Regions from separate parts of the Homo sapiens genome. Here region 1 is linked to region 2. Evidence: promoter capture Hi-C in human tissues and cell types (Jung and others, 2019). All regions are on one chromosome and are shown on one strand. Each heading gives the region's core, a stretch centred on a gene start or on the middle of the fragment in contact. The rest is flanking DNA. Distances are from core to core; before and after follow the strand shown.

Region 1 (4,062 bases), core at 1,056-3,555, 1.1 Mb before region 2:
AAACTTTGAAGTTTTGTTTTATGTCCATGAATAGATTATTATTATCTTAAAAATAAATTTTCTGGCTCAATAAGGTATTTATCACAACTACTATAATATTCTAGAGCCAAGATTTAATTTTTGGGTTTTTTTTTTTTTTTAAATAAACATCCTTTTGTTTTTTTAAGACAAGGTCTTACTCTGTGATCCATGCTGGAGTGCAGTGGTACAGTCTTGGCTCACTGCAACATTTGACCCTCGGGCTCAAACAGTTCTCCCACTTCAGCCTCCCTAGTAGCTGGGACTACAGGTGTGTCCCACCAGACTCGGCTAGACGGGGTTTTGTGGTATTGCCTAGGCTGGTCTCGAACTCCTGAACTCAAGTGATCCTCCTGCCTTGGCCTCCCTAAGTGCTGTGATTACAGGCATGAGCCACTGCATCTGGCCAATAAATGTCTTTTGATTGAGTTATATGTTATGTCTTTTTTTTGAGACCCAGCCTCATTCTGTCAACCAGGCTGGAGTGTAGTGGCACGGTCTCGGCTTACTGCAACCTCTGCCTCCCAGGCTCAAGTGATTCTTCTGCCTCAGCCTCCTGAGTAGCTGGGACTACAGGCGCGTGCCACCACGCCTAGCTAATTTTTGTATTTTTAGTAGAGACAGGATTTCACCATGTTGGCCAGGCTGGTCTCGAACTCCTGACCTCAGGTGATCCTCCCGCCTCAGCCTCCCAAAGTGCTGAGATTACAGGCATGAGCCACTGCACCGACCTATGTTATGTCTTCCTTATGTTAACTGATTTTATCCTTTGTTAGAAAACAATTGTTGTGACAAGTGGTTTTCTTTTCATTTATATAATTTTATTAACATCTTGTTTACCAAACACAGTATACAACGAAGGTTAAAACAGTTATTGTGAGATGACTGGCATGTTAATTAGAGCCTCCCTACGTGTGTGTGGGTGTGGGTGGATGTGCTTTTGGAGAGACTAATGCAGAGCAAGGGACAGTATTTTGAGTGCCTCTTTGGCGGTGGGTTTTTTTTTTTAAATGACAAGCCCTCAAATATGTGGTATGTTTAAGTCTTATCAGTTATTTAGATGTAGTCACATTTATCTCTGTGGAAAATATAAAATACAATAATTTGTATATTGTAAAGTAATGTCATTTTTAATTTTTTGATTAGTCTTTTTCACTTTCTTGAAAAATTCAGAAGAAAACATTCTGAATGCATCTGTTTGTCAGTTTTGTCCGTGCACCTTTCTCAGACAAAAAAATAAAATGTACGTTTATGATGATGAAAACAGCTGCAGTGCATACTTCTGAGAGTCATTTGTCAAACGAAGCAGCAATAGAGGAAAAATGATAATACACCACTGCACTATTAAGTATAAAACTGCTGCAATTGGTGCCGTTTTAAATTATTAAACACTGTAAATGCCATAAAGTTAATTAGAAGAGGAACAAACTCTACAAAGATAAATGTGTTTTCAGTATGATTGTTAGGGGAGGGTACAGTAGAAACCAGTGAATAGAGAGGAAATTTATTTCTGGCAGGACTCTACACATGGAACTGTGGCTGAACTTTTTACCCTAATTACCTCCTGCTAATGCCTGCAGCGGGCTGGAATCAAAGTGGTGCTTCAGGCCCTGGAAATTCTCTGATGTGGCAAACGTTTGTTGTGTGAGGAGGGTTTCTTAAGAAAAAGCAGAATATTGTGACAGGATTTAAAAAAAATTTCTCAGTTACCACCCACCTCACTTGTTGCCTACAAAAATAGAGTAATTGTTTGCATCTGTGTGTGCTTTTTTATCCCCTAAGAAATAACTGTTATAAATCAATGTGACATAGATCCAGTGAACTGAGGCTTGCCTGAGGTAGGATTTTTTTTTGTTTTTTAAAGTTTCTCCTTTAATTGAAAATTTAGATTCCAAATGTAAAGAGGTTATTTTTTATAATTGAGAAGAAACATTCTATGCATTTTTAAGGAGAATTTGGATCTTAAAGTGTGCTTTTCAAAATGAATTCTAAAAACTTTTGTAGTATCAAACTGATAACTATTAAATTGCTTAATCCTGGAAAAAGTGGGAATTTCCAGTTTCCATTATTAGTTCTCCATCTGAGACTAGAACCTAAAAGACATTTCTCTAATCTTTGTGAAAGTTAATATCATTCCACTTATGTGTCACAAAAGGTTTGGCCATGTATGCATTTTTGAAATAAAAAGAATTAGTTCTCTAAAAGCACCTGCTTTTCAACTTCTGCCTTTAAAGGCAGTGTTTCTATACAATGTAAAATACAAGTACCATGACAAGTCATTTTATATAATCTATTTTTAAAAAATAGAGATAGGGGTCTCACTGTATTGCCCAGGCTGGTCTCAAACTCCTGAGCTCAAGCGATCCTCCCACCTCAGACTGCCAAACAGCTGGGATTACAGGTGCGAGCCACTGTACCTGGCCCATTTTATATATTCTAAAAGAATCCAATTTTCAAATAGTCTGCCCTTGTGCATCTGTGCTGTCTTGTGTCTCCAGCTCCAGCCCTTATCTAATCTTCTTGAAATACCTTTTAGATAATTCTTGAAAAGCACTAATAGCACTTTTTTTATAATGCAAATAAAATCATGTTTTTATGTTGGCAAAAATTTATTTTGGCAGTCTTTTAGTTGGATGTCCTAAAGAAATAGTTTTAATTTTTAAAAGCAGAATGCTGTGAGTTTTCTTGATCCTAGGCAATAAGAATTGTAGTGAAATCCCAAATTTCTTTCAAGATTGTGTCAGAAACTCACAGTTGCTGTGGTTACAGATTGCTTCATTATAACCTTAGTATTTTGCATTTTGCACACTTATACTTTTGCATTGCATCTGTGACCATTCATTCATATAGTAGTTTTGTGAATTGTGAATGAGGGCTATTTGTTTGAACTACCAAGTTTCAAAATTATGTTACAAACAATTTATTTTTATTTCGTTCGGTACATATGTTTACAAAAACTTTAATCAGTGGTAAGGCACTTATATATTTTCACTTCACGTATTCTTTCAAAACTGTAATTATCCACATTTGATATAATAGATATATTTTGCAACATTTGGCTTTGTCATTTGACGCCCCTTCATTTTCCGCTCAATTCCAACTGCCTTTACAAGAAAAGCCAAATAAGAAAACATTTTACTTCTCTGTCTACTATGAAAAGTAATCTGTCAAAACGTGAAACTACTTTTTAAAGCTGTATTTATATCTGTAGGTATTTGGTGCAATTTAAGTTATATTTCACTATAAAATAACTGCATATTATCATTAGAAGGATTTAAATCATCATGTGATATTTTTCTGATTCTAATAACAGGAAAGAGAAATTATACTAATGTGGCTTTATCACAAATTATGTAATATAATAACATTTATGTAAAATGAATGTAAATATTCTTACTAGTTTTCAAACAAAACATTTTATGGTACAAGAGGAATAATTTTGTTGTACTTCAATAATATGTCAGATTTCTTAGAAGTATTAATTTAGAACAGGATATTTTATTGTCTTCTTAATAAAGATAAGCAAAAGCTTAGATTTTTCTGCTATCATTTTAAGAATTGACAAGGAAAATAATTGACTATAAATTTTTACACATATCCTTCTCTAAAATGTTTCCTGTTCTGTCTTGATATAACAGGTTGTTCCTTGATTTTGAGAATTAGACTTTAAGCATAATCTATTAATTTTGGCTTTACTTCATTTCTCAGCATGTCTCAAATGCTGTGATGAACTTTGGTTACTTTGAAATGTTTAGTGAAGTGGTTTCTATTGATTTCATATGTGTACTCAAACTAATCTACATTGGTAGATTATCAAGTTTTAAGATGATACTAGAGTAATAAAACTGGGCATACTCTTTCACAGTATAGTAGTATATTTGGCCTCACTGTGCTTGCTTGGCAGAAGATGGTATAATTAACATCTTTTTATGAGTTGAGCTAGACTTTAGTATCCTCATTTCAAGTACCCCATGTTTTTTTGTTAGCTATGGTTGTGTGTATCTGTTAATATGAAAAATGACTCTGTATTTTTTTGTTTATCAT
Region 2 (4,310 bases), core at 1,295-3,794:
ATGGTGGCGCGTGCCTGTAGTCCCATCTACTCGGGAGACTGAGGCAGAAGAATCACTTGAACCCAGGAGGTGGAGGTTGCAGTGAGCCGAGATCACGCCACCGCACTCCAGCCTGGGCAACAGGGCAAGACTCGGTCTAAAAAAAAATAAAAATAAAAATAAATAAATAAATACTCTACCACAACTGACAATTAACACTCACTTCCACTGATGGTGGCTTGCTACTAGATTCACAATGGGCAGGGAAGGACATAGCACCTGCCCAGAATCTTTGGGAATATCTAAGCTTTAAAAGCCTCCCAAGAGGCTGGGCCCAGTGGCTCACACTTGTAATCCCAGCACTTTGGGAGGCCAAGGCAGGTGGATCACCTGAGGCCAGGAGTTGGAGACCAGCCTGGCCAACATGATGAAACCCCATCTCTACTAAAAATACAAAAAATTAGCCGGGCATGGTGGCAGGTGCCTGTAATCCCAGCTACTCGGGAGGCTGAGGCAGGAGGATCGCTTGAACCTGGGAGGCTGAGGTTGCAGTGAGCCAAGATCACGCCATTGCACTCCAGCCTGGGCAACAAGAGCGAAACTCTGTCTCAAAAAAGAAAAAAAAAAGCCTCCCAAGTGATTCCAATAAATCCCTCTAATCTAGGGGAAGTTACCCTACCTACTTCCCACTGAAAGTAATTGGCCTAATGAGTTTAGCCCACATACAACAGCACATTGCCATATTTCTCTAGATAACATTTTATAACATGGAAGTCAAAAGATTCTGGAACTGTAACTATATACAGAAAAGACCTAAGTAAAATGCTCTCCAGAATTTAGATTCTCATTCTCTCTTTTCTGGAGAGCTCTAAAAAATATCTGATTCCCTGTTCTTTGTCAAATCCAAATCCACATATAATATAACATAACATTACCTAAGCTGCTGTTCTTTGCTGGCATCTTGTTCTAAAGCATGAAAGTCCACGGACAACAATGCAACAATGGAGTTGACAGCTTCCACTCCAGAAAGAAGGCGAAGGATGAGTTTCTTATCCTGAGCCCAGCTTTGGCTCTGGTCAGCAGGTGCACAAAGTGCCATCCGTACCAAACAGGGCAGAAGAAGTCTTAATTCTGGATCACTTAAAGATGCCAGGCAAACAACATCCACCTTCTGCATTGCCTCAAAAGCAAAAGGGCTGACAAACTGAAGACTTGTACATTCAGTCATTATTACTGTTTGTTGATCCTAATGGTAAAAATACAAATGAAAGTAGGAGTTTAACTTTCACATGTATGAACACCCAACTTTCTAAAAACCCTGAAAAATGTGGTGTATCTTTAATAGGTCCCTATGTTGGCAATGTTCCTGGCACAATCAAGACAAGGCTTCTCTGTCTCCCTAGGTTTATACTGTCACCTGGGAAATGGGAAAGAAAACAGAGTATATTAATGTCTCTTCCAGCCTCAGGAATCTTCTGCTCTAATACTCATATTTTACAAAGAAGGAATATGAAGCCCAGAGAGATGAAGTAACACGCCCAAAATAGTATTACTAGTTAGAGGCACAATCCAAGGCTGAATCCTCATCTACTAAAATCCCAGTCCAAGACTTTCTCCACTATATCAGTCACATGAGCTCCACAAAATGTAAACAAAAGTGAATGGTCATAGTTAAGTGCTTTCTTTCATACCCCGATAGTTTCACATGCCTACCCCGATATACATCAAGAACTATTGGGCTTCTCTTTCTCACCCTCCATGAGTCGGTGGAAAAACTAGCAAATCACTGGGCAGAACCAATGCCAGATTCAAGGCTCTGGAGGCCACAACACTATCCTATGTCCCCTGTGTTACCGGGTAAAAAGCAGATGTGTGGGTGCTATGTGAGAAAGACGCGTCTCATTAGCGCACTTCTCTGTCTCCAGGAATCATCCAAGGCACAAAAAGTAAACAAAAAGGCAGTGAGCTGGCAGCCAAAGCAGTCCCCTCTCAAGGCCGACCGACTAGCAGCAGCGTGGGTAAAAGTCGTGGGTAAAAACTGCTTTGCTTTCAGGGAGGGGCTGCTCTTTTAACAGAGGGGCGGGCTGACTGGAGCAGAGGAGCCAAGACCTGCGTGCTCCTCCGTCTCGCCCCGGGCGCAACTAGAACCAATAAGTCCCTCAGGCTGAGCAAAGTCTGGCCAGGCTCCGACACGGACCTAGGAACGCGCTGAGGCCAGAGAAGCGGACGCTTCATACCTTAAGATCTACCCTCCAGCCTCACGGAACCGCACACGGACTCCGCGTCCTAGAGGCGGGACGCGGCAGAAATCGAGAGCGCGGTCCGATGTTGGGCCTAGGCGATATCCGGAACCCCAAACCCTAGTTGTGCCTCGAGTCGACTCGGACACCAAGAACTCAGACGCCGGGACCAACCGGGTTGTCGATACAAAGTGGGAAGGATGGGGGCACCACACAAAGGCAGAACCGGGACTGTAGGAACGGAAAAGCGGGAGACTTTTTCAACCTGCACCCAGCACCTTCATTCATCCCCAGCGTCTGACTCCCGTCGGCCACCGTACTGGTCTGAGAGGAAGGGTGGCTGCGAGAGGAAAGGCAGAGACGTCGGCGCCAATGCAACTGTGCGCGTGCGCGGCCCCGCCCCTTTCTCCACTTTATTTGCCCTGCCCTACTTGTTCGCCAAAAATTTAGAAATGTGATTCTGGTAGGCTCTGATTTCCAGAGCCTACCAGCTCCTTCCTTTTAGACAAGCAAGCCACTGAGCCCCTCAGAACTTAAATTTCATCATCACAGGATTGCCATGGCATTCAAATGGCATAACGTGTGTTAAAATCGTTCCCACTATTCTTTGACACTAGTGGTACCAAACTGTACTCTTTAAATCTTTGCCTGTGCCTTCCCAGAACCAAAATTCTAGAATCCCAGGATTTGTGGGAGAATTTTAAAAGTGATCTAACCCCAAACTTTCTTCCGCTCTTGACCTCACACCTCCGCTGTCAGAAGTTAAACACCTTCCTTTCAGGTTCTTAACTTGGGGGACCCATAGAACCTTAGAGAGGCAATGCACGGGGATTCAGGAATTCTCTGGAATCCGTTCAGAACTGAGTGCTCGGCACTTCTTCTGGGAAGAGGGTCCAAAACTTTCAACAACTTCTCAAAGGAAGTCTGATCACTCAGAAAAGAACCACTAGTCTATATATGAAGAACCGCTAGTCCATATGTCTTCATACTATTTATTGTTCCTAGTTCGATCAACGTTTATTTGGCAACTTCTATTTACCAGATATTGTGCTAGGAGCTGGAAATAAAAATATTTTACAAAGATATAGCACTTTATAACCTCTTTAAAAATAAAGTCAGAGCCGGGCGTGGTGTCTCATGCCTGTAATCCCAGCGCTTTGGGAAGCCGAGGCGGGCGGATCACCTGAGGTCAGGAGTTCGAGACCAGCCTGACGCAACATGACTAAACCCCAACTCTACAAAAAATATAAAAATTAGGCCGAGCACGATGGCTCATGCCTGTAATCCTAGCACTTTGGGAGGCCGAGGCAGGCAGATCACGAGGCCAGGAGTTCGAGACCAGCCTGACCAACATGGTGAAACTCCGCCTCTACTAAAAATGCAAAAATTAGCCAGGCGTGGTGGTGTGCGCCTGTAATCTCAGCTACTTGGGAGGCTGAGGCGGGAGCATTGCTTGAACCTGGGAGGCGGAGGTTGTGGTGAGCTGAGATCGTGCCATTGCACTCCAGCCTAGGCAATAAGAGCGAAACTCCGTCTCAAAAAAAAAAAAAAAAAAAAAAAATTACCCCAGCGTGGTGATGGAGCACCTGTAGTCCCAGCTACTTCGGAGGCTGAGACAGGAAAATCACTTGAACCTAGGAGGCAGATGTTTCAGTGAGCAGAGATCATGCCACCGCACTCCAGCCTGGGCAACAGAGCCAGACTCCATCTCAAAAATATATATATATATATGACTTTCAACATAGATCAGCAAAGGAAGAAAAGAATTGTGTGTTGCAATGCTTCTGAAAATTTTTTCCACCTGACCCACAATAATACATTTCACATTGTGACCCAGAAAAAACATATGTATATATCCACATACAAAAATAAGTGTAAGTGTATAAATTTATATGCTATATAAACATATAAATATATAACATATAAACCCACATTTACATGGAAACAAATATTTCGTATAATAACACACACACTACATGTTTCTACTTCTCTTTAAAAAACTGCTGGTCACTGCACACTAAAACTGATTTCACACTCTATTAATGGGTTGCACACTGTACTGTCCTAGCATTTTTAAGCTAATATTTGGGA

The links. The method cuts DNA at HindIII sites, captures the fragments that hold promoters and counts their contacts. A contact is called where the count stands out against the background at its distance.
Region 1: a fragment that was not itself captured here is called in contact with the fragment with the promoter of INTS2 in region 2 in 1 of the 25 tissues and cell types used here (dorsolateral prefrontal cortex).

What each region holds. Positions count from the first base shown.
Region 1 is chr17:60,830,726-60,834,787 of GRCh38, forward strand. The region is part of intron 7 of BCAS3 (BCAS3 microtubule associated cell migration factor); the gene reads left to right. Among named protein-coding and RNA genes, the nearest start is that of BCAS3, 150 kb to the left of the region's middle. The HindIII fragment of the contact is 3,838 bases long and covers 387-4,062 here.
Region 2 is chr17:61,925,438-61,929,747 of GRCh38, forward strand. INTS2 (integrator complex subunit 2) reads right to left here and starts at 2,545. Exons shown (of 25, transcript NM_001351695.2): 1 at 2,217-2,545; 2 at 915-1,225. The coding sequence starts at 1,207. RefSeq lists a silencer at 2,576-2,675. The HindIII fragment of the contact is 16,998 bases long and covers 1-4,310 here.